Regions from separate parts of the Homo sapiens genome. Here regions 2, 3, 4, 5, 6 and 7 are each linked to region 1. Evidence: promoter capture Hi-C in 16 types of primary human blood cells and fetal thymus (Javierre and others, 2016). All regions are on one chromosome and are shown on one strand. The core of a region is centred on a gene start or on the middle of the fragment in contact, and the rest is flanking DNA. Distances in the headings are between cores, read along the strand shown.

Region 1 (3,546 bases), core at 1,047-3,546:
AGACTTCTATTATGAAAACAAACACGCAGTAGTCAGCATAGTGTATGACATAACATGTGCTCAGTAACTATTAAATTTCATTCCTACCATTGTCAGAGGTATTTGAATCACAACAACTCCATCTTGAATAGGGGCTGGGTAAAATAAGGGTGAGACCTACTGGGCTGCATTCTCAGGATGTCTGTCAGTCATTCTAAGTCACAGGATGAGATAGGAGGTGGGCACAAGATACTGATCATAAAGACTTTGCTGATAAAACAGCATGCAGTAAAGAAGCCAGCCAAATCCCACCAAATCCAAGATGGCGAGAAAGGTGGGACGTCTGCTCGTTCTCACTGCTCATTATACACTAATTATAATGCATTAGCATCCTAAAAGACACTCCCACCAGTGCTATGACAGTTTACAGATGCCATGGCAATGTGAAGAAGTTACTCTATATAGTCTAAAAAGGGGAGGAACACTCAGATCTAGGAATGGCCTACCCTCTTCCCAGAAAACTCATGAATAACCCACCCCTTGTTTAGCATATAATCAAGAAATAACTATAACAATCCTTAGTCTACCACCTCCAATGGGGGTGTATGCACCTCCAATTCTTTCTTGGCGAGATCCAGGAGCCCTCTCCTGGGGTCCAGATCAGAACACCTTTCCAGAAACACCATCCCATGTTAAATTATGAATTAAGAACACTGAACATGAAGAATGTTTAATTCAAATTATTGAGTAAACACTTACAAAATTAAAATATAACATTTAATAAAAATAGCAAGATTGAGGAACAAGCACTTCACAAATATTGGTTTCCCAGAATGTCTGAGGAGGTGTATAGAAGTTAAGAATATGTCCTCCAGCCAGAGAGATCTGTGTTCAATCACACTATTTAAGTTACTTAGCTTCTCCAAGCCTCAGTTTCTTAACTCAGATGGAAAATGAGGACAATGTAAGCACCTATTTCACTGGATTGTAAGGAAGAATAAACAAGATAATGAATAGTATTTGGCATATAATCTTTCAGAAAAGTAGTAAAATTGTCATTCCTATAAATCTAACTAATGTCTTTAAAATTCATCTCACAAAATCAGTATCTTTTTATTTTGTACTGAGCTACTTATTTTACCCAAATTGGGGGTTTAAAAAGAAACTCATTACTTATTTTCGAAAGGAAAATTTACTGTCAAGTACAGTAATTTTTTTTTTAAAGCAGCGTTTAAAAAAAAAAAAAGACAAAGCACTGGTCCAGATAGTTGGAAATGTCATTTAGATTTAAGTCTACAGCTTCTTAGGAAAGTTAGGTAGAGATGTATCATACTCCAGCATGATTGTGAGCAGACGAGCAGGATGAGCAAAACTTGCACGAGTAAGAGTGGTAAACACCAGAGAAGGCGCTTTCATGGAAGGGCACCCTAGGTAACCAAGCAAGTGGCAACAATAGTACAGGTGAGTCCTTGGATCCCTTCTCTCTCCACCCCCGGCAGTGGTCCGGACAAGTACTAACCTCTCCTCTCTAGAGCCTTGACTTTATACTAGCTCCACAACCATCAAGCCCCACGATCCGCGAAAGGAATGGTGCTACAGGTAAGGCGGGCGGGGTCGGGATGCCGAGACCTCTTGTCAATTCTTCGCTCGCCCCCAAACGAGGATCACGGCTGCGCGGCTCTCACTCTAACTATCAAGACAGATTCTGATACTAAACAAGGCTAAAACTTTTTGTTTTTTCCTTCTTACAGAAGGCACTACCCTGGACGCCGCTTGCAAACGCCTGAAGAGAAGGCAGGGTGTTCCCACTTTTTCAGAATGGGACCAGGCCCTACGGCCCCAATAGCAGAAGCTTCTCTAACCCAGGACTGCTCCCCTCAATTCCTCCCAATATGCTGACCGACAGCTCGACCTCACCTGGGGGCGGTTCCGCCAGGGGATGGCTTAGGAAAACCTCAGGAAGAGCAGCCCAGCGAGTGACGCCACTGAAACCACAGTCATGGTCTACCTCGTTCAGGCCACCAGTTTGCAGGCGCCTGAGCCGCTGCTCCTCCCGCCTCTCGGTCCTTCCCCGCCGCCCCGGTACCGTCGCAGTCTTACGCGTTGCATGCCGGGAGCGCCTTACCTCCTCTTCTCAGGGACTTCAGTTCCCAGCATGCAGAAGCCTCAGGCAGAACTGCACTCTGGGATTTGAAGTCCTCGTTCCACGCCTTCTCATCATCCTGAACACCGAGCTCTGGGACTCCGGCGGAGAATCTAAACGTAAAGCATCACCCACGGTCGTGAACTGTAGGCTCTCCTGGCATCCGGGATCTTATTCTGGCCTTGGCGGAGTTGGGGATGGTGTCGCCTAGCAGCCGCTGCCGCTTTGGCTTGCTCGGGACCATTTGGCTGGACCCAGAGTCCGCGTGGAACCGCGATAGGGATCTGTCAGGGCCCGCGGCCGGGTCCAGCTTGGTGGTTGCGGTAGTGAGAGGCCTCCGCTGGTTGCCAGGCTTGGTCTAGGTGGGTGGATCCTTGTAAGCAGGATTAGCGAGTCACTCCACGCTCAGGTTCTTTAGCCTGAGGGCCCGTGTGCCACAGCATAGCTACCCCGCCCTTCCAGCCTCGGGTCCCTAATACTGCCTTGCTTCGGTTCCAGTTTCCGCCGCACAACTTCACTCATTCCAAATGTTAATTTCTGCGTTTTTTTTCAGCCCCAATTCTGTTTCTCCAAATCAGGGATGATTGTCGGCCTTCCACAGACCCTCGCGCTTGCCAGGATTAGGGTGTTCGCGCGCATTGTGGGTAGGGGTGTGGAGGAAGGGATCCAGAAATCTTAAGTATTAACTTAGATTAGTGTTAGCAAGGAAGCCGTCACATTTTATTTAGCCGGGACACTCTGACAGTTTGTGCCGACTGCTATTTTTGATCAAGGCTATTTTGCCCACTTGTCTATTTTGTGGCCCAATTGTCTGTTTTGCTAACATCAGAAAGTTATAATGAAATAATCTGCAAAAAATGTAAGGTGCTAGAAAACCAATAATACTGTGTACCTTGAAAATGCTAATATACACCTGTTTTGTTACAGAGGTGGAGCACAGTGAAAGAATTCAAGATGCCACCTAATATAAACTGGAAAGAAATAATGAAAGTTGACCCAGATGACCTGCCCCGTCAAGAAGAACTGGCAGATAATTTATTGATTTCCTTATCCAAGGTGCTTAATTGGTCAATAATAATAGATATATACATTAACTTATGATTAATTTATTAATAAAATATGAATTTATTTTTTTCAGGGACAACTATAATTGTCACAATCTGGAAGTGTTCTTATATTTTGCTTGAAGGTTATAAAATATAAAACAGTTGCTTTTCTGTTTACTTAGGTGGAAGTAAATGAGCTAAAAAGTGAAAAGCAAGAAAATGTGATACACCTTTTCAGAATTACTCAGTCACTAATGAAGGTTTGTATGTAGTAGGTTTTAACTATAGGTTTGGCTATTAGTGGAACTATAAAAATCTGTTCTTATATAAGGTAATCTTTGTGAAAATACCTGGTAATATCTACATCACCACTAAAAA
Region 2 (3,599 bases), core at 942-3,441, 1.8 Mb before region 1:
GAAGGGTAAAGGAAAGAAATGGTAATGATTTAGTCCCTTGTTAGTGTGGTATTTTTTTAAAAGCAACTTGCTTTTTACCAGTGATTAATATTTCCAAGATATTTTTGTTCAAGAAATATTTTTTAGGCTTTAAAGGCAGATACAATATCACAAAAATATCCAGAATTCATTGTTCTCATCAGCTGGTAAATTATTTGTTACCTACACCTAAAACAATCAAACTGGTGCCCCTAAAGATGCAAAAATAATCCTGGATTCAAAAACTAGAAATTAAAAACCAAATACCCATTTGTTCTGAAGTATATGAGTATCTTTAAACACTTTAATTGGAAAAAGCTTCTATTCACAAACAGAAGTTATCACCAAAATTTTATTTTCAATCAGATAAAGATATATTTTTAAAGGTTTATTTACAATTGAGTAGATGTTTGTCCCTGATTGAAGGATGAGGAAAGGGTTTCTGTACATAACAAACATAATGTTATTCCTTTTCTTTATTTTTTAATGAATGAAACAGCCTCAGAATTATACTTTGGCTATCAAATATATTCTAACATTTATTCTATAGCAGTTGGACAGTTAAATGAGCATACAAAAGTACCAGAATGTTACCAAAAATGTTCCTCTTATCAACTCCTCCATAAACTATCATCATCAACTGGTAATCATATTATTTTCTAATTATTAAACTTGTACAGTAATCAAAGGACCCCTTTGGGTATTTACATGCTCTATCTTTATTCCTCTTTCTTTTATAATCTTCTTTCTATCTCTAGCCCTCCGTGAAGCACTTTATCAGATAATAAGAAAATCACTCTCCCACATAAAATAATTATTTTTAAAAACTATGGCAAAGTTAATGATCCTTATTTGCTCTGTCAGATCCCTTACACTAGAACTATATTTTGTCTGTTTTGCACAGTACTTTTGCCAAGCACACAGGGGAGTTGAAGAGACAGTAGTTGATGGTAATTATCATGCACCCTTTGTTTGTTCACAAGGGACATTTGCTGAAGATTAAAAATAAATTCACAACTAATTGACTGTCAGCCATAAGCTATACTGCTGGGACTTCCAAACTACCAACTGAAAAGAAAACAACTGAGCAAATCTTGCCAAGGCCCAACTCAAAGATTAAAAACAGCCTCCCTATTTAACTTGCCTACAGCACAACTCATCAGATGAAAGGTAACTTCAGTAGTTCTGCAATTCCCTTCCCCAAAGAGCCCACTTTGGGAAATAAACCTTTAATTACAAATGCTATACGGCCGGGCGCGGTGGCTCACGCCTGTAATCCCAGCACTTTGGGAGGCCGAGGCGGGCGGATCACGAGGTCAGGAGATCGAGACCATCCCGGCTAAAAACGGTGAAACCCCGTCTCTACTAAAAATACAAAAAATTAGCCGGGCGTAGTGGCGGGCGCCTGTAGTCCCAGCTACTTGGGAGGCTGAGGCAGGAGAATGGCGTGAACCCGGGAGGTGGAGCTTGCAATGACCCGAGATCCCGCCACTGCACTCCAGCCTGGGCAACAGAGCGAGACTCCGTCTCAAAAAAAAAAAAAAAAAAAAAAAAAAAAATGCTATAACTGGGCCTGCTAAGCTGCCCCTTTCAAGCCACCAATGAGCAGTTATCTACTGAGCACTACCTATTTGCCTGGTACTTGTAGACTCTGAGAATACAATGATAAATAAGATATTCACAACTCTTTCCTCTGTGGTATTCAACCCCAGCAAGGAAGGAGTATAGTTAGAAACTTTACTTAGTGAAAGAAAGATGAGGAAGACAGTAATGACGCATTCCAATGGCAAACACACCTCTACTTCTTAGTTTTATTTCTTTGTCACACCTACCTCAAGTTGAAGGCAGCAATCTTTATAGTTCTATACCTCATGCATGAAAGACAATCCAGGAAACCTTAAAAATTGTCTGTCCCAATGAACCATGACCCACAATGGTATAAGAACATCGACAAAATATGAACAACAATGGTAAAATATAATCAACTCACTAATGAGTCATGTGCATGATCCGGAGGCACAGGTAAGACAAGACTGGTTTATTTAAGGGCTTAGTTCTCCTTTGGAAATGGAGCTAATCTTGTCAGAATAGCAGTTGAGCTATTCCTCTCTCCTTTCCCTATCCATCTTTCCCCCTCCCAGATCTTCTCTCTTTTTTTTCCCCCTTTGGCTTCCTATCTGCATCTACCTTCTTTCTTTCACAAAGCCTGACTCCATAGATGATGGTTGTATGATAGGCATTGTTAATGTCCACCAATTTCTAATTATTTACTTTTGGTTAGAAAGGAGATTACATTTCCATGTTCCCTTGAAGTTAGATGCTGCCATGTGACTCATTTTGCCCAAAGGCATGTGAATGACACTCTGGACTAAGGCTTCTATGGCTTGTGTTTGACTTGCCAGCTCTTTCTCATCCCCTGCTGGGGTGAACCCTGAAGCCTGACGTCATTAGATGGCAGTGTCATAAAATGACAGAGTCTCCTTCAGCCTTACTCCGTATGTGACAGTGATAAGCAAAGCTCTCCCTGACACCATGAATGAGAAATAACCTGAAATTTTAGAGTTGTTATCACAGGATAACCTACACTATTCTGACACAAGTAAAAGAAGAAAGATACTAACCAGCACATGCAGTCATAAGGATGTTGGCAACAGGATTCATTTAGCACACATTTACTGAATTGGCATGTAAGTGAAAGAATCCAACATGAGAAAATAGAGAAAAGATAAAGTTGTTGCCCTCAAAGAGAGGGCAAAAAAAGAAAAAAAATTGACAAATGTAAAAACAATTATGGTAGAATTTTACATATATATTTTTTAAATCAGTCAAATATGGTAAGGAAAAGTTTGGGAAATCTTTGTCTAAAGAGCGTGCAGCTGGAAGCTAGGAGTCCAGTCCTGCCATGTTTTTGTAAGTCATTACCATTGTTATCATCATCAACCTATTTATTATTACAGAGCATGTGTGACTTCAGGCAAGACACTAAACTCTTTTTTTGCATCTTTAAAGTAGAGGGAAAATACTATTTCTCTTTTTTAGATTACTGAAATGTGATTAATACCCAAGAGGATAGAATGTCTATGTACTCTGAATTCTTAAGACAAAACAACATCTCAGGCAGAGTGTTTAGTGAAAAGCCCCTGGCTGAGGTTTCAATACTTGTGTACAATTGAGCAAAAGTCAGAAAGCCTTGGTCTTTTTATATCTCAGCCAAAGGTGTCTACTGAGCTTTCACTGTGTGCCAGCTACCATGCCAGGCTCTAGAGATGGGCCAGTGAACAAGGCATTGTGCTTGTCTCACTCTAAAAACTGGCAGAGAACATGAACATTAAACTTTAAGTATTATGATCATTAATTGCATAATTACAAACGTTCTAAGAGCTCCACAGGATTCCACTGGACCATTTGACTGAGAGACCTAAGTGGCTTATCAGGGATGGCTGATAAACTGAGTTTGGAAGAATCTGTAAAATTAGTATCACAATGTACTTTTAAGGTGGCTATAATGGTTTTTAAAACTAAATGTAAAATTTTGGCAAATAGTTGGTTCTCAATAGATGTTAGTTATTGAACAGTGTCAT
Region 3 (3,260 bases), core at 583-3,082, 1.4 Mb before region 1:
AACAAACATGCTACCAAAATAACAAGCCTATAGTCTTCAAGAACATCAAGGTCAATAAAGACAAAGAGCAACCTAAGAACTCTTCTGTAATTTTTCTGTAAGCTTAAAATTATCAAAATAAAAATTTACCAAAAATAAGAGGGAAAAGGGAATGAGGCAGCTCTAGGTATTAACAAAACATTGTCTCCAACATATATCATGCTAAGTAGACTGAGGAAGCAAGATAGAGAGGCAAAATGCAGAATAGCAAGAATAATATACTACCATTTGTATAAAAAGCATATGAGAATAGACACACACATTTGTATAAGCACAAAGGATTCCCCAGAAATTAGTAATGCTGGTTGCTTCTGGGAAGGAGAACCAGGTTGCCAAGGACTAGAAGGAGATTTCATTAAATGCTGTTTTGTAATGTTGGAATTCTGTAATATTGGAATTCTGTTTCAGGTACACATATTACCAACTGAAAAGATACGTAAGATAATTTGTAAGAAACAAAAAACTGGAGACGGTAACATTTCTTTTCAGAAAATAGTGTTCCAGACAGAGCCTCTAAGTAACTGCAGCTGATTTTGGTCAAATCAATGAGTGAGAAAGCTTGAGTTGACTCAAGGAAGTTATTGGTACTTAAGGTGACACAAAGACGGGTGGCCATTTGGACATTGTGTGACAGACAAAGAGCAAACATGTTTTCCATTTGTTGTTCTTTGTTGTCACCTCCAGAGACAAAGCACTGACCTAGGTAAGCATGGGCTTTGTTCTTTCTTCTGCCAACAGGGATTTCTTGAAACAATGGATTATTGTTATAGAACATAAATAGTTTTTTTAAACTGGTAGATTACTAGTTAATGTTTTCCCTTAATTTCCTCCCTTTTGACATTTTATCTCGAAATAGACCCGTTGAAGATGAATGGTACAAGCTTTGACATTTTAAATTATGTGGTAATGTTTATATAGGGTGTGGTTTAATGGAAATGTATGAAAGCAAATTCCAAGTTGACACAGTACAACACTGACATCAATAACCAAATACATTTTATTATCATGGTATTAGGGTTTGGTAGGACAGTTCTTTCCTAAGAAAGAAGGTTAAGGAAGTAAAGAGGGAAATTCAATGTTGGTTTTCATAGTTTTTTTTTTTTTTTTTTTTTTTTTTGAGACAGGGCCTTGCTCTGTCTGGAGCAGGCTGGAGTGCAGTGGCGCAATCGTGGCTCAGTACAGCCTCTATCTCCCACCTCAGCCTCCCCCACCCCCACAGAGTAGCTGGGAATACAGGTGCAGGTCACCATGCCCAGCTAATTTTTTTGTTATTTTTTGTAGAGACGGGGTTTCGAGACGTTGCCCAGCTGGTCTCAGACTTCTGGGCTGAAGTGATCTGCTGCCTTGGGGGTCGTAATATGTTATATAATATGTATTAACTCCCTCCTATTTTCTTCTGACTCCATGCCTTTCTGGCTTTGATCCCACTTTCTTGAGGAAGAAAACACATGGACAAATTCTGATGTTAGGAATATTTTAAGTATATATCTTCAATATTATTTATCCAGGACCAAAGTAAGTCCTGATGCAGGAAATGAGTGAGTTTCACAGCTTTCTGAGCCCCTACTCGACCCAGGAAGCCCCGCTGGAACCTCCTCTCTCTTGGGCCCAGGGCCAGCTTTGTGGGCATACCTCCTGTACAGTTGCACAGGGCCCCATGCTTAGTTTAATGCTATGAAATTCTTAATTATTTTCCTATAAGAGCTTCACATTTACGTTTTGCACTAGGCCCTGCAAATTATGTAGCAGGTCCTGATCAGGCCTGATTTTACTAAACCTCATTTGACACACTTGTCACCCTCTTGGAATGCTCCTTCTCTTCCTGGACACCACAATGTCCTTGTTCCTCTCCTACTTCGTTTGTGGCTCCTTCCTTTGCTCTTCCTTATCTGAACGTTAAGTGTCCTCAACCTCTTCTTTATCTGTACTGATTTCCTCAGTGATCCCATCTAGTTTACAGTCTTTAGTACTTTCTCTAAGTTACTACTAACAGAGAAAACTTTAGCAATAATAGCTACATTTGAGTATTTTTCATGTGGCAGGCATAAATTGCAAGTACTATTTCCTTTAATACTTTTAACACCTCATTTTGCAAATGAAATGTCCTGGGCACAGAGAGGTGGAATAACTTGCCCAAGGGCACACAGCAGTAAGTGACAGCATGGATTTGAACACAGTGAGTCTAATTTCACAGGGTGTTCTTTTAACCACCACACTGTACAGTCAGAACCTCTCCCTGGGCTCCAGGCGGGGTATATCCATCTTCCTACTTGACATTTTCACTTGTATGTCTAATTGGCATCTCAAAACTACTATGTCCACCCCAACCTGTATCACTTCAGATCTCCTTTTCTGGTCTTTCTCATCTCATTAAATGGCACTAAAACTCACTTCAGTGCCCAGGCCAAAATTCTAGCATCTTCTCTTTTTCTCTCCCTCACATCTAGTCATTAGCAAGTCTCATAGACCCTACAGTATATCTTGATTTTGACTCTTTTTCCTCCTTCCAAGGCTCGCAGTCTAGTCCAGACCACTGCTTTCTCCTGACTGCGTGATTGCAGTAGCCTCCTAATAGATCTGTCCCTTGCCCCTTGTAGCTTCTCCACACAACAGCTAGAGTGATGTTTTCTGCTTTTTCCTAAATGTTTTATTGAAGCATTGATATGTTCCAAAAATTGCACAAATCATATAACTGTAAAGCTTGATGAATATTTAGAATGTGACCTGCTTATTTAACCAAAACCCAGAGTGAGAAGCATAACATTACCAGCATCTCCGGAAGTCCCCTCTTGTGTTCCCTTCCAGCCACTATACTCCCTCCCTGCCATCCACATAATCACTATGTTTGCTTCTAACTTCATAGGTTAATTTTGCTTCTTCTTAAACTTCATATAAGTAAAATTTAACACAGTGGGTATGCAACATGAATATATCACAATTTATGTATTCATTTTACTTGGATAGTTGGGCTTCTAGCTTTGATCTATTGTGAATAGTATTGCCACAAACATTGCACATGTCTTTTGCTAACCATACATAAGAATTTCTGTGGGTATATTCCTAGAAGTGGAATTGCTGAATCAAATACTAAGTATATATTCAGCTTCAATAGATATTTCAAAATAGATTTTCAAAGTGGTTATAACCACTAGTAGTATATGAACATTCCAGTTGTTCTACATCCTCACCAAGATTTGGTGTTATTTATCTTTTTCATTGTA
Region 4 (3,417 bases), core at 197-2,696, 1.2 Mb before region 1:
CCTGGCCCGCACCTCCCCAAAGTTACCTGCTGGCTTTGCAGCGCGGTAGAGACGTTCCCCTCGACTCCTTGGGAGCGAGGAGCCAGGGGGGTCCCGGCAGGCACTCGTCCTTGCTCCCCCCACCCTCCCCAGATCTCTATGGACCCGGGAGTCCCTCGCTGAGCCCCGCACCCGTCCACTGCGTCGCGCACAGCCCCGTGCCCAAGCGGGGAGACGGGGACGGCGGGGCGGTGGCAGGGAGCGCAGCGCGCAGGCGCGGCTGGTGCTCCCCGGAGTGCCCGGCGCTGGACAAAGGGAGGAGGCGGCGGCAGGAGAGGGCTGGGGAGGCCCCCTCTGACATGCCTCCCTGCCAACTGTAACCAATCGTCGAGCCCCCCTGCCGAGCCCCCGCAGCCTGCAGGTCTTGCGGGAGGACTTCCTCACGCCTCGCCCATGGCGGGGACTGCTGGCCCGGCCCGGCGCGTCCCAGCACACCTCGCTCAGGCAGCCCCGCCAGACCGGCTCCCCCGTCAGAAGCCGAGCTCCTTGCCCAGAAATCATTAACCAGCGCGACCTCCCAGCAGGCGATGGTGGTGGTGGGGCGGGGGGAGAGATATAGATTCCCCCGAACAATGGCTTGTAACTCCCCACGCCGCCGGAGCGGAATACAGTAAAAGCACTGGACTGACCTAAGAGTTTGTTTCTGCACTCTACATTGTTTTAATGAAAATAAAATGTTATTTTAAGAAAAAAGGTTTTCTTCTGATTTTCTGCACAACCAGACGTTTGTTTGTTTGCTTTAAAATGTTTCAACAAAATCCTGGTTTGTTTCGAAATATGTTGGATTAGCATTTAACACCTCATCGGTCACTAAAGCCCAGTCAGTTCACCAGCCCCAACACAGCCTCGGCTAAAAGAACATCAGAGCAAACAGAGCTGGGCCTTTAAAAGTGGCAAACAAATGCCACACACCGCCTAAAGAAGGGGGGTTGGGGGAGGGGAGGGTTAAGGCGAACTTGGGTCCAAATGAGTTTGAAGGGAATACAAAGAACGAAAAGTCAGCACAAGTTTTCCTAAAGCTAGCTCGCGAACGCAAGCGTCGCGAACAAGGGCTTTTGTGCATGCTAATTGCGCCATTGGTGCGCAAAAGTTCCGACGCGAAGTGTGAACTCTCAACAGAAGGAAACATGAGACAACTGAAGTGCCCTGGTTTATGTGCCCTGCTCCTCCTCCGCTGCCGCCTCCCCTTCTTTCTCCTTCCTCCCGCCGAGCCCGCTGTTGCAGCTTGTTTGCACTGGGGCTTATCCGGAGCGGAAATTCCTTTCCGTTTTTGTGAATGACAAACTCATTAACAATTCATCAACACAACCTGTTCCAGCCGGCCCGTCCCCACGGCAACAGCCCCTTCCGCAGCACGCTCATTGGCTGGCCCGGAGAATGTATCCATTGAGACGCTCGCTGTTTGTATCCATTGAGGAGCTGCCTCGCGCAGGGGGTGTGCGAGGCTGAGTCCAAGAGATAGCAAATCGAGTCTTAAATAATCCGGGGAGAAAGACGCCCGGGTAGATTTGAGGTGCAGCCTTGGAGGGAGGGATTAGAAGCCGCTAGACTTTTTTTCCTCCCCTCTCAGTAGCACGGAGTCCGAATTAATTGGATTTCATTCACTGGGGAGGAACAAAAACTATCTGGGCAGCTTCATTGAGAGAGATTCATTGACACTAAGAGCCAGCGGCTGCAGCTGGGTGCAGAGAGAACCTCCGGCTTTACTTCTGTCTCGTCTGCCCCAACCGCTAGCCTCGGCTTGGGTAAGGCGAGGCGGAATTAAACCCCGCTCCGAGAGCGGCAGCTTCGCGCGCGGTGCGCTCGGCCTATGCCTGCCCCGAGGGGCGTCTGGTAGGCACCCCGCCCTCTCCCGCAGCTCGACCCCCATGATAGATACGCTCAGACCCGTGCCCTTCGCGTCGGAAATGGCGATCAGCAAGACGGTGGCGTGGCTCAACGAGCAGCTGGAGCTGGGCAACGAGCGGCTGCTGCTGATGGACTGCCGGCCGCAGGAGCTATACGAGTCGTCGCACATCGAGTCGGCCATCAACGTGGCCATCCCGGGCATCATGCTGCGGCGCCTGCAGAAGGGTAACCTGCCGGTGCGCGCGCTCTTCACGCGCGGCGAGGACCGGGACCGCTTCACCCGGCGCTGTGGCACCGACACAGTGGTGCTCTACGACGAGAGCAGCAGCGACTGGAACGAGAATACGGGCGGCGAGTCGGTGCTCGGGCTGCTGCTCAAGAAGCTCAAGGACGAGGGCTGCCGGGCGTTCTACCTGGAAGGTACGCGCCCAGGGAACTCCGCGCGCGGGGCAGGGCTAGGGGCGCAGGGCTGCGGGCGGGGCGCGTGGATTGAAAATACCTCTGCTCCGCTCAGCTGGAGCTTCGGAGCCGCGCTGCCCGCCTAGGGACCGGCAGCCGGCGAGGTAGGGGCCGCGAACCGCGCGTTCCGCACCAGAGAACCGGGCCGGCTCAGAATCCACTCGCTTCCGGCTGCGGGTACCGGCGGTTTCTTTCTAACGGGTTCTGCGCCTTCTTAGCCAGAACATCCTCCACCATCACCCTGTTTTCTATCGTTCGATTTTGAATTAAGATTTGCAGGACGGGAGAGATTGTTGGGGATGCAAATTGGCACATCTTAGCTCTCAAAATATTCCAAAAAGTTGCCATTTTGTCTATTTCCGGATTCAAGCGAATAAGGGTTCCCTGGCGAGGCGGGCCCGTTCGTTCCATTCCCGATGGTGCACATTTAAAGTGTGTTTCTCTTATAGATGGTTCTGTATGTAGGGGGTTCGTAGGATGCTTGTGGTGTTTCTTGCGCCGGGCTGCGGTTCTTACAAGCTGTGAAAACTACTACGGCTTCTCAGGTTAGATGATTGCTTTTCTCGTTCTGGCAGGTGGCTTCAGTAAGTTCCAAGCCGAGTTCTCCCTGCATTGCGAGACCAATCTAGACGGCTCGTGTAGCAGCAGCTCGCCGCCGTTGCCAGTGCTGGGGCTCGGGGGCCTGCGGATCAGCTCTGACTCTTCCTCGGACATCGAGTCTGACCTTGACCGAGACCCCAATAGTGCAACAGACTCGGATGGTAGTCCGCTGTCCAACAGCCAGCCTTCCTTCCCAGTGGAGATCTTGCCCTTCCTCTACTTGGGCTGTGCCAAAGACTCCACCAACTTGGACGTGTTGGAGGAATTCGGCATCAAGTACATCTTGAACGTCACCCCCAATTTGCCGAATCTCTTTGAGAACGCAGGAGAGTTTAAATACAAGCAAATCCCCATCTCGGATCACTGGAGCCAAAACCTGTCCCAGTTTTTCCCTGAGGCCATTTCTTTCATAGGTGAGACTAATTAATAGTCGTCGCTCTGACATTTAAATGCAAAATTCCTAGCCATTCA
Region 5 (3,562 bases), core at 528-3,027, 1.4 Mb before region 1:
ACTTGAACTCAGGAGTTCAAGGCCAGCCTGGGCAGCCCATCATATATATTATATATATATATATGGTGAGGAGGTAGTTGATAGGACTTGGAGACTGAATGTTAACTTAAATGAATCATGCAGTTTTCAAAAATGTAATTCATTATTGATTCAAACCCATCTTGTACTTTTCCATGTGCTCTCCTATACTTTGGAGGAAGTGTATCAACAAGGGAGTTCCATTGCCTGTAAACAGGCTCAAAATATGTTCACTCCAAGTGCTATATAGTAAGGTGAACAGTAGATGGCACTTTTGTACTATGCTGAATTTCCAAATTTGAAGGCCAAGGAAGAACCAGTGCTAAAATAAAAATAACTCTTTATAATGCTCAAGTAAGTACATTCAATTTCTGTTTTAGGGGGAACTGTATAAGAAGGGCTAATTAGAGGTCAGTTTGTCCTAGCTAGTACCCGGCCTCCAGTAAAACCTTGTAGGTTTTTAAATACTGATCCTGCTTGTGGCTCCCACCCACATAAATGATTAGGTTGCAGTCCAGAGAGGTCTAAATAATCATTGTAGCAAGTGGAATTAGGCTTGAGGTTAGAAAAAACTTCCCCAACTTTGACCACATTTCCAATTGTCTACCTCTGAGCTTTTGCTATTTGCAAAGGTGAAGAAAAGCCGAAAAGAACAAAATCAAATACTATGGAAAAGAACAATGGGAAGGGCAGTTTAGAGTAATAAATGAGGACAGTGGAATGAAAATAAAGGAGATATTACTTTCATTTTGTAAAACTTATTATTATAAACCTTGGCAAGAATGCAATGTTTTATACATTTACATAACACTTGCAATCACACAAAAGTCATGACAGTGATTAAGAGAGTGGATTCTGGGCCAGGTGAGGTGGCTCACACCTGTAATCCCAGCACTTTGGGAGGCCGAGACAGGCGGATCACGAGGTTAGGATATTGAGACCATCCTGGCTAACACGGTGAAAACCAGTCTCTATTAAAAAAAAAATACAAAAAAAATTAGCCGGGCTTGGTGGCGGGCGCCTGTAGTCCCAGCTGCTCGGGAGGCTGAGGCAGGGGAATGGCGTGAACCTGGGAGGCGGAGCAGCTTGCAGTGAGCCGAGATCGCGCCACTGCATTCCAGTCTGGGCGACAGAGTGAGACTCCGTCTCAAAAAAAAAAAAAAAAAAGAGAGAGTGGATTCTGGAGGCAGACTGCGAGTGTCTAAAAATCTCAACTCTGCCACTTCCTAGTTAGCAGTGTGCCTTGGGCAAGTAACTTAATGTCTTTGCATATCAATTTACTCATCTATAAAACGGAAATGGTAATAATAGCACATCTCTAATAAGATCGTTATGATCACTAAATGTCAAAATTTGTAAGGTACTTAGAAAAGTCCTGGCATGTAGTGAAAACATAGGTAGGTATATTAGTCCGTTCTCACATTGCTATGAAGAACTACCTGCGACTGGGTAATTTACAAAAAAAGCGGGTTTAATTGGCTCATGGTTCTGCAGGCTGTACAGGAAGTATGGCTGGGGAGGCCACAGGAAACTTACAAACATGGTGGAAGGCAAAGGGGAAGAGAGCATGGCTGCTCCATGGCTGGAGCAGGAGGAAGAGAGCAAAGGGGGAAGTGCTACACACTTTTAAACAACCAGATCTCGTGATAACTCACTCAGAACAGCAAGGGAGAAATCCACCCCCATGATCCAATCACCTCCCACCAGCCCCCTCCTCCAACACTGGGGATTACAATTCTACATGACAGTTGGGTGGGGACACAAATCCAAACCATATCAGTAGGTGACAAATTTTTTAAGATCAACTTTAGGTAATAGGATTAATATGTAGTTTCCCTCCCATCTTTTAAATTTAAAACATGTGTTTCTTGATAATTGAGAAAAAAAGTAAAAGCTAAACTTTTACTAAAACACTTAAATAAAAATCTATATTTTTTCTTCTTGTGAGCTAGTTTCTAAATCTCCAACTTCTTCCCTTTTCTGCTTCTCCTGTGCCCAATATTAGACGTAACATACCTATGAGTAATCCTGAGGTCCTGATTACTCTTCAGCTTCTGGCATTATTATTTTATTATTGGGGTGAAATACCTGTAATGAAATTTACCATTTTACCCATTTTTTAGGTGTACAATTCACTGGCATTAAGTACATTCACAATGTTGTGCAAACATCACCACTATCTATTTCCAGAACTTCATCATCCCAAACAGAAACTCTGCACCCATTAAACAGTAACTCCCCAGTCTCCCTTACCCCCAGCCCTAGTAACCTCTATTCTACTTTCTGTCCTTATGAATTCACCTATTCTAGGTACCTCATATGAATGGAATCATACAATATATGCTCATTTGTGTTTGGCTTATTCACTTAGCAAAATGTTTTCAAGGTTCATCCATGTTATAGCTTGTATCACAATTTCATTTCTTTTTATGGCAGGATAATATTTCCTTATATGTATATATCACATACATTTTGTTTATCCATTCATCTGTTGGATACTAGGATTGTATCCACTTTTTGGCTATTGTAAATAATGCTTGCTTTGAACACTGGCATCTGTTGGAGTCTCTGCTTTCAATACTTATGGGATATACCTAGCAGTGAAATTGCTGGATTATAAGGTAATTGTATGTTTAACTTTTTAGGAACTGACAAACTTTTTCACAGAGCTACATCATTTTACATTCCCACCAGTATCCAGCATTAGTTTTAAACATGGCAGGCTTTTAAAATAAATCAAGCCTAAACTGGTAATATGTAGCAAAACTAAGAGTCCTGCAACAGTTTGCTGACAAGTTGCTGATATCAACACTCTTAACATATCATCTCCTAGACTAATGCAGTGTTTCTCAACATAGACAGCTGAGACTCCCATAGTAATCATCTATGGAGCTTGTTACATCAGAAGGGCCCTGGATCCCACCTTGTATATGTTGATTCAGCATCTCTGGAAATGGAGCCCCCAAATCAACATTACAAATGCTAAAGCATGAGACTCACCAACCCTAGATTGCTGAGTTCTTGAAGGTAGGGGAAATATCTTAGTCATCATTGTGTCCCTCAAGGCCAAACATACAACAGATATTTAACAAGTGTATACTTAAATTAACTAATACTGTAATCTAAAGCCTACCTGTTTAGTTGTTAAGTACCATATTCAATAAAATTAAACTCAATCACTAGACAACTAGGGAATCTGTAATTAAGGTGTGTAGCATACCTTTCATTTGCATAAAACACATGTCTTACCAGCTGTGTTCTATCATGCCCTTTGATGTTGCTAAGGATCTTTACACTATATGTAATTTTCAGCTCAGAACATCACGCTTTGAGGCAGGGTTAAAAAAAAAAAAAGGATATGGACTTGGAATTAGAAGAACTGTCTCTGTGTGACCTCTAAGACCAATATCTAGGAATCAAGTTTATAACTTGGAAACATTGAAAACATTTTGTAATTCTACCAACTTCATTGTTTGGCTGAAGCACAAATGATACTATGTGTAACAAAGCCTGCTGTAGAAACGTGGTCTCACAAAAAACAAAC
Region 6 (3,342 bases), core at 463-2,962, 1.3 Mb before region 1:
AGAGCTAGACTCTATCTCAGAATAATAATAATAACAATAATAATAATAGCTGTATAATAATAATAGCTGTTTTTGTCCAGTGCTATGTGCTCCTGTTTCCTTCTAAAATGAAGGTGCTTTCTAATAACTCTCATATCTGTATATACATCAGTCATCAGAGGGAATCGGCAGACCATGTAACCCTGAGGATACAAATTTGGCATGATGTTTAGCCTGATTCCTGTAGCTGAGGTATTAGTGGAGTGATGGTGGCTGATATAGTTTTCATTTTCTAATAACAAGAAGGAATATTATCAAGTTGTTCATGTAAGGGAAAATTTTTTATGGAAGTAAATTATAGGAGATACTTTATTCGTTGTCGTTGTATTGAATCATCTATATATAAGTCTTTTATCAAAGGGTAATCGTAATGTAAGACAATTTATGAAAAGTCCCAATAATGTGAAATTTGGTCTTCAAAATATTACTTTAATAAGTATAGTCACTGCCCTGTACCATATAGCTATATTAAGTATGTAGAGATGAAAGACACAGTCTTGGCCTCAGGGAGCCGACAGTTACTTCAGTGGGGAAACATGATACTAAATAGTTATAAAATGGTGTGTCCTAAGGGAAAAAGTGGCACAAAAGATGATAAGGGAGTAATAAATAAGTGAGAATTGAACAAGATTTGTGTGAGGAAAAGTCAAGAAAGCCGTTTCAGTCCCAGAGCTGAGGGGAGAGAAGGGGAAGAGGAGGCAGTGGCATATTTGTCAGGTGCGAAGAGGGAAGGCAAGCTGTCTTCATGAGGGAGCCAGGAGGAGCAAAGCACTGTGGCCTGCAGGTACATAGTGTGCTCCAGGAACATTAATTATTCAGCTGTGGTCAGAACACAGGGAGCATATGGGACAAAACTATCCAATATTCATATGCCTGCCTGCACCATAGCATCACCCTGGAGCAAGTTAGCTCCCTGCTCTCAGCCTCTGTGGAACTTGAGGGTATTGAGGCTTCTCTCACTGGACTGAGGATAAGAAGTACCAGTTGACGGTGTTTGGGACTGAGTGATGCCATAAGACTACCTCTCTTCCAGCTGGGTGCTATTTAGGGAGAAACTCTGGAACCGGGGAGGAGTCACTGAAAATGTTCTTCCCCTTTATCAATTTGAGAGAAGAAAACGATGGTGGAACTCTGCACTTCTGTCTGCCTATTCCCTGTTTTCTGGTAGCAGTGCTCAAGCTTGCCCTGAGGAACCAGCTTGCCCCCTTGTCCTCTCCGTGTCATGTGCAGGAGTGCAGGAGTGGCCCTATCTCCAGTTCCAGAGCGGACAGTCAGCTCAGGCTCGCCCACGGAAACATAGCATCCCCTCCTGGAGGAGTGAGTCTTGTTGGAACCATGGGCCTTTCCTCTTGGTTGGCAGTGTTTAGGCTTATTTAAGCCTGTGACTGCTGAGGGACACCCTGGGCAAAGAACTGACCTAAAAATAATATTAATTCAGAAGAGAGCAGAGCTGTGAGATGAAGACAGAATGAATTTCTGTCTAATCATATGATTTGGTTTCTGGATACAGCCATACCTGAAAGTATTATAGAGAGTGTGTGTATGTGTGTCTGTGTGTGTGTGTGTGTCTGTGTGTGTGTGAGAGAGAGAGAGAGAGAAAGAGAGAGTTTTTAAAAATTGCCTTTTCCTTTTTTGTTTTATCCTAAAAAAGATGCTTTCCATAGGAAGTGATACTGGAGCAGAGTTTTGAAAAGTGAAATCTTCTTACCCGGTCAAGACATTCATTTTAGCTCCATCCTCAACGCAGCTGCTGTAGTTTTAGCACCATTGGCCTTTGTGCAGACTGTTGCAGGAATCTCCTAAATGGTCTCTCAGACCACAGATTACCTCCTCCCACCCTCCACCCCTGCATCTCTGCTTTTGTGAAAAACAAATCTAGTCATGCTGTTTCTTGCCTTAAAACCCCTCAGTGACTCCTTGTCCTGGCGTGTGTGTGCACTGCCCTCCTATCTTTCTTTTGTCACTTTCTGTCTTTCTTCTGTCACTTTCACCATTCACCTTCTTGCAGCCAGACAAGTCTCCTCAAGTGTGAATGACCCTTTTTGCCTTGTGCCTTTCCATATGGTGATTTCCATGCTGGGACGCCCCCTGCTTCCACCCTTCCTTCACAACCTGCTCTGCATCTCTTCCTCCAAGAAAGGTTTCTGCTTCTCCTGGGCCAAGCTTATTGTGACTCCTTTATGCCACCACATTGCCCTTCTTATGAGGTCTGTTTATCAGCTTAGGCCTCTCTTCCCTATTAGACTTCGAATTACAAGTATTTATGTTGTATTCTCTTGCCAGGCACTGTTGTAAATTGTATGAATACAGCAGAAAATAAAACACAAAATTCCTACTCTCGTGGAGCTTCCTTTACTGAAGAGAGACAGACAGCAAATATATTAGTGATAAGTACTCTGGAGAAAAATGATGTAGGGGGTAACAAGATGAAGAGTGGTGGGTTTGGGAGGTGGTCTTTTACATATCGAGGTCAGGGAAGGCATATTTACCAAGGTGACGTTTGAGCCAAGACTTGACTATATTGTGGAAGTTAGTAAGGTCGGTGTCAGGAGAGTGTTCAAGATAGGTCAGATATGATCTGAGAAGCACTGTAGAGTATCAGCTACAGGGTGGGAAAGGGTCAGGGGTTGTGCAAAAATATGGTTGAATCAATCAGTGAAAGGTTGGTGAGTAGGCTTAGGTTTATCTCTAAAGCAAAGGTAATTTTCATGGATTTCTTCAGAGAAGAGTTATTTTTGTGAATCTTTTCTAGCAAATCCAGGAGTACTGGTGCATGCATGTTTTACATGGAGATGTTTATGTGGCTTCACTGCTTTCTTTGTCCATTTTGGTTGACTCTTGTTCAATTGGCCAGTTGCTGACTTGGCACACCTGGCCTTCATGGACTGTCTTTATCTTACCGGTACCTTAAGGTTCTGAGGGATTTTTTTTAAAAAATCAGTTTTCTTACTGTTTGGAGTGAATGATTAATGTGAAACTCTGCAGAGGCCGTCCTCAAGGAATGTTCTTTGATGAATAAGTTGGTTAAATTTAATGAATAAGGATTTCATCTTCTTGGCAACTTTTTATTTATGTACACTACAACATGCTTACAGATTCTTTCTCATGCATGTATTATAATATATCTTCTTGGCTTACCTTATTGCAGTTAGAACAAGAGAGTTTAGACCAATGTCTGGAGGGCCTGATTGACCACCAAGGCCCAGCCTCCCAGAGTGTTTTGTGCATCTTCCCATGAGAACTTAACCTTGATGAAATCATTCTAATCCAGGACTCTCAAAGATGTGCAGGACTAGAAGTCCT
Region 7 (3,236 bases), core at 273-2,772, 1.4 Mb before region 1:
TGTTTTTGTGCTTTTTTTCTTCCCCTCTCTGGTTTCTGGAAAGGGAAACAGCCCAAATAAGTTGGAAAGCAGATAACATGGGTAATTGACAATTGGATCTGTACTAATTAAGTCGTTATTAGTATGTATAAAAATGTAAAGCTCTTTTGAGTCCAGGCGCGGTGGCTCACGCCTGTAATCCCAACACTTTGGGAGGCTGGAGCAGGCGGATCACCTGAGGTCAGGAGTTCAAAATCAGCCCAATCAACATGGAGGAACCCCGCCTCTACTAAAAATACAAAAATTAGCTGGGTGTGGTGGTGCATGCCTGTAATCCCAGCTACTCAGGAGACTGAGGCAGGAGAATCGCTTGAATCCAGGAGGCGAAGGTTGCAGTGAGTCGAGACCACGCCACTGCACTCCAGCCTGGGCAAAAGAGTGAGACTCTGTCTCAAAAATAAAATAAAATAAAATAAAATAAAATAAGATAAAGCTCTTTTGATATTTACCATGAGACTAATTGAATTCATTTGAAAATAGACCCAAAAGGAATTATAGCTAATAGCTTTACTTTAAAAACAACTTAGCTTTTTATGCTTTCTCTTTTGAAACATTGCTTTCAGCATTGAATTGGTAACCACTTTATATGGGAAATTTTGTGTTATATTTCTTATGAAACATTCCCAAATATAAATATCTTTGGTTTTTATTTCAGATTATAATAATAATCTGTGCTCACTATTAAGTTGGCAAAGTATATAATGACAAAGAAAACTACCATTAAGCATATCACACAGACTTAAAATTTTGGTGTATATATTTGGAAGCTTGTGTTCTCTGTGTGAATACCATCATTCATATCTAGCCAAACCATTGGAACTGTACACAGCTGGGGTTTCAGATATATAACATTCAGTTGATGGATTTAGGAATGGGCCACTGCAATTTAAATTGCAAGATGGGACAAGAAACACTTTTTTAAAAAGTTTGCATATATGAAGGTATAAGGCATGGGCCATCAATCTCTGACCAGGCTGGCTGAGAGGAAGAGAGCAAAGGATCTTGGTTCACAATGAGGCTGTCCCTGAGAAAGAAAGAAGTGAGAGTGAAAATGCTGTGTGATTAATGTCCTCAGCAACTGTATGGGAAGTCTGCCTTCTCCCCAAAAGGGCTATAAAATGAAACATAATAAGCAGTGGCCCAAGCCATTCTTCTGTGAGACCCCCAAAAGTGGAGAGAAGGACATAAACAGAGAAGCCATTTCTCCATCACTCAGAGAGAGGGAGATGATGTAGGCTAAATAGGAAGTGCATCAAATGACAATAGTCCCAAGGGGCAAGTGTGGAAGACCCAAGTTGAGTGGCAATGGCAAGGCAGTGTTGCAGTAACAAGCAGCCTTGTTACTCTAATAACTCAAAGTGATGCTTTGGATTCTCTTTCAGAAACCATTGCACATCTCCCCTACGCAGGGACTATGCTAGGCAGAAGGGAAACCAAGATGAAAAAGAATCCCCCATATGAACAATTATAATACCACACTACGTGCAATAATGATGTCAAACAGGGTATGTTAGAGGGTTAACTTCAACAAGCATGGGGACCCAGGGTTAAAGAATATCTAACAAAGTCCATGGGCAAGAACAGAGATGGATGAGGTTTTGCCATATGGGAAAAATAGGAACAGTCCATACTGAAAACAGCTGGTACAATGAAGCAGGAGAGATAATGATATTTCTTCATGATCTACAAACTCATAAGGTAAGCAGTAGTGCTGAATTCCCTACTCTTTCAGATTTATTGAATTACAGCTGTTTAAAATACAGTAAAAATCTCTCTAACACAAGCTAATGAGAAAGGCTTATCTGATTAACCAGATTCTTGGAGATAAGGGATTGTATTGCTTTTAGATATGTAAACATCATTTAAATGGAGAGAGTAGCTGTGTTTGATACTAATTTGGAAACTGACAATGAAACATTGGCTTATAAATGGGTGCTTTTGACATGTTGTTTTCTAACATTTAAACCTTTCCCCTTACAATCTTGATTATGCTGTAAATTTGCTAAGTTAACTTTCCTTTTGCTTTCATTCAAAGCAAAATCCTGAAAATGAATAATAAGTAGTGTGCTATTTTGTGCAAAATAATACTGATAACATTTTGGTTAGCAAAATGAAATAACATACCTGAAATAAATAATAATACCTAGTAAATTTGTACTCATGGGTCAATTTGATGACAGAAAGGAAAAGAAAGCTTAAAGATAAATATCTCTAAAGTTATGCTTTCAATGCCATCTGTACAAACTTCATGTCAAGATCTAACAGAAAAAAAAAAACAAAAAAAAACTCTGTCTTATGCCAACACAACTAATTCCATGAAGTTTGGATCATCACAAAACTCAAATGTTTTATGATTTCTTTTATCCATGTCTTTCAACTGTACAGTACATTTTACTGTATATACAGTTTTATGGAATGTGGAGGCAGCATCTGATGTAATATTTTCTGTTCAAATTGTTTACTTTGTAGTCAAACATTCTTCAAAAACATTTTAGTCTCCCCTCCCCTCACCCACTCTGATTTTACATTCAAGTCTGTCAGTTCCTATTTAGAAAGGTTAATTGAGACCTGGAGTCTCAAAGCCTCTGATACAGAAGCAACTTTTGCCGTCCTTAACAGATTTCTTTGAATTTGCTGCCAGGTCTGATTCTACATGTAAATATTTAAGTGAGTTAGTAAAATAAAAATAAAAATAAATAAAAAAACCTTTTTTTTAACAAGAGTGGGAAAGCAAGGATACTATAAAGTAATTTATGACATGAGAAAATGAACTTTCATTTCTGCATACTTCTTTTTGCAAACTTCTTGGTTATTGTCAGATTTGCAGATGTCTTTCTTACTGCTCTTCATTAAACTTTCAGCCTCCTGTGGAATTGCTGAGTCAACCAGGAGATAATGCAACACATTTGCAGGAGCCCATTCTGTTTTAATTATCTCCCCTTAATGTCACCAAGGAGGTGGAGTTGAGAGGGCCCTTTGCTGTGACCCTTAACTCTTGAAAAGTGAGTATCTTCTTATGAGAGCCAGCTTTGAGCAGTTCACTTCGGACTGCTGACATATTTTTTACCTCTCCAAAAAGCAGAGCCTGCTTTGGAATGCAGTGGAAATAACCCACCACAGAAGAAATAGTTTGTAAACCGAAGAACTTACTGTGAATGCTGGCTTTTTGCCACAGCCTCCTGCAGGGAAGGAAGAAA

The links. The method cuts DNA at HindIII sites, captures the fragments that hold promoters and counts their contacts. A CHiCAGO score of 5 or more calls a contact.
Region 2: a fragment that was not itself captured here is called in contact with the fragment with the promoter of CEP290 in region 1 in 1 of 17 cell types (non-activated CD4 T cells); the score reaches 5.4 in non-activated CD4 T cells.
Region 3: a contact is called between a fragment that was not itself captured here and the fragment with the promoter of CEP290 in region 1, in 1 of 17 cell types (naive CD8 T cells). The highest score is 5.1, in naive CD8 T cells.
Region 4: the fragment with the promoter of DUSP6 here is called in contact with the fragment with the promoter of CEP290 in region 1 in 1 of 17 cell types (total CD4 T cells); the score reaches 5.4 in total CD4 T cells.
Region 5: a fragment that was not itself captured here is called in contact with the fragment with the promoter of CEP290 in region 1 in 13 of 17 cell types (naive CD8 T cells, total CD4 T cells, naive CD4 T cells and 10 more); the score reaches 22.8 in naive CD8 T cells.
Region 6: a fragment that was not itself captured here is called in contact with the fragment with the promoter of CEP290 in region 1 in 1 of 17 cell types (activated CD4 T cells); the score reaches 6.5 in activated CD4 T cells.
Region 7: a fragment that was not itself captured here is called in contact with the fragment with the promoter of CEP290 in region 1 in 1 of 17 cell types (naive B cells); the score reaches 6.0 in naive B cells.

Annotation. Positions count from the first base shown.
Region 1 is chr12:88,140,838-88,144,383 of GRCh38, reverse strand. It overlaps CEP290 (centrosomal protein 290), which reads left to right and starts at 2,296. Exons shown (of 54, transcript NM_025114.4): 1 at 2,296-2,484; 2 at 3,050-3,178; 3 at 3,351-3,428. The coding sequence starts at 3,077. TMTC3 (transmembrane O-mannosyltransferase targeting cadherins 3) reads right to left here and starts at 2,077. Exons shown (of 14, transcript NM_181783.4): 1 at 1,897-2,077. RefSeq lists enhancers at 1,707-2,210, 2,017-2,456. The HindIII fragment of the contact is 8,380 bases long and covers 1,834-3,546 here.
Region 2 is chr12:89,950,262-89,953,860 of GRCh38, reverse strand. All of the region lies in intron 6 of LOC105369890 (a long non-coding RNA gene), which reads right to left. Among named protein-coding and RNA genes, the nearest start is that of LINC02399, 4.4 kb to the right of the region's middle. The HindIII fragment of the contact is 3,706 bases long and covers 339-3,599 here.
Region 3 is chr12:89,505,163-89,508,422 of GRCh38, reverse strand. All of the region lies in intron 2 of POC1B-DUSP6 (POC1B-DUSP6 readthrough), which reads left to right. The region is part of intron 2 of POC1B (POC1 centriolar protein B); the gene reads left to right. Among named protein-coding and RNA genes, the nearest start is that of GALNT4, 18 kb to the left of the region's middle. The HindIII fragment of the contact is 1,819 bases long and covers 923-2,741 here.
Region 4 is chr12:89,350,530-89,353,946 of GRCh38, reverse strand. DUSP6 (dual specificity phosphatase 6) reads left to right here and starts at 1,446. Exons shown (of 3, transcript NM_001946.4): 1 at 1,446-2,307; 2 at 2,922-3,359. The coding sequence starts at 1,908. POC1B-DUSP6 (POC1B-DUSP6 readthrough) reads left to right here. Exons shown (of 11, transcript NR_189589.1): 10 at 2,922-3,359. RefSeq lists a silencer at 191-500 and an enhancer at 2,320-2,954. The HindIII fragment of the contact is 9,767 bases long and covers 1-3,417 here.
Region 5 is chr12:89,526,655-89,530,216 of GRCh38, reverse strand. All of the region lies in intron 1 of POC1B-AS1 (POC1B antisense RNA 1), which reads right to left. Among named protein-coding and RNA genes, the nearest start is that of POC1B-GALNT4, 2.2 kb to the right of the region's middle. The HindIII fragment of the contact is 4,188 bases long and covers 1-3,562 here.
Region 6 is chr12:89,485,182-89,488,523 of GRCh38, reverse strand. The region is part of intron 4 of POC1B-DUSP6 (POC1B-DUSP6 readthrough); the gene reads left to right. All of the region lies in intron 4 of POC1B (POC1 centriolar protein B), which reads left to right. Among named protein-coding and RNA genes, the nearest start is that of GALNT4, 38 kb to the left of the region's middle. The HindIII fragment of the contact is 984 bases long and covers 1,221-2,204 here.
Region 7 is chr12:89,574,841-89,578,076 of GRCh38, reverse strand. No RefSeq gene overlaps it. Among named protein-coding and RNA genes, the nearest start is that of POC1B-GALNT4, 50 kb to the right of the region's middle. The HindIII fragment of the contact is 1,427 bases long and covers 809-2,235 here.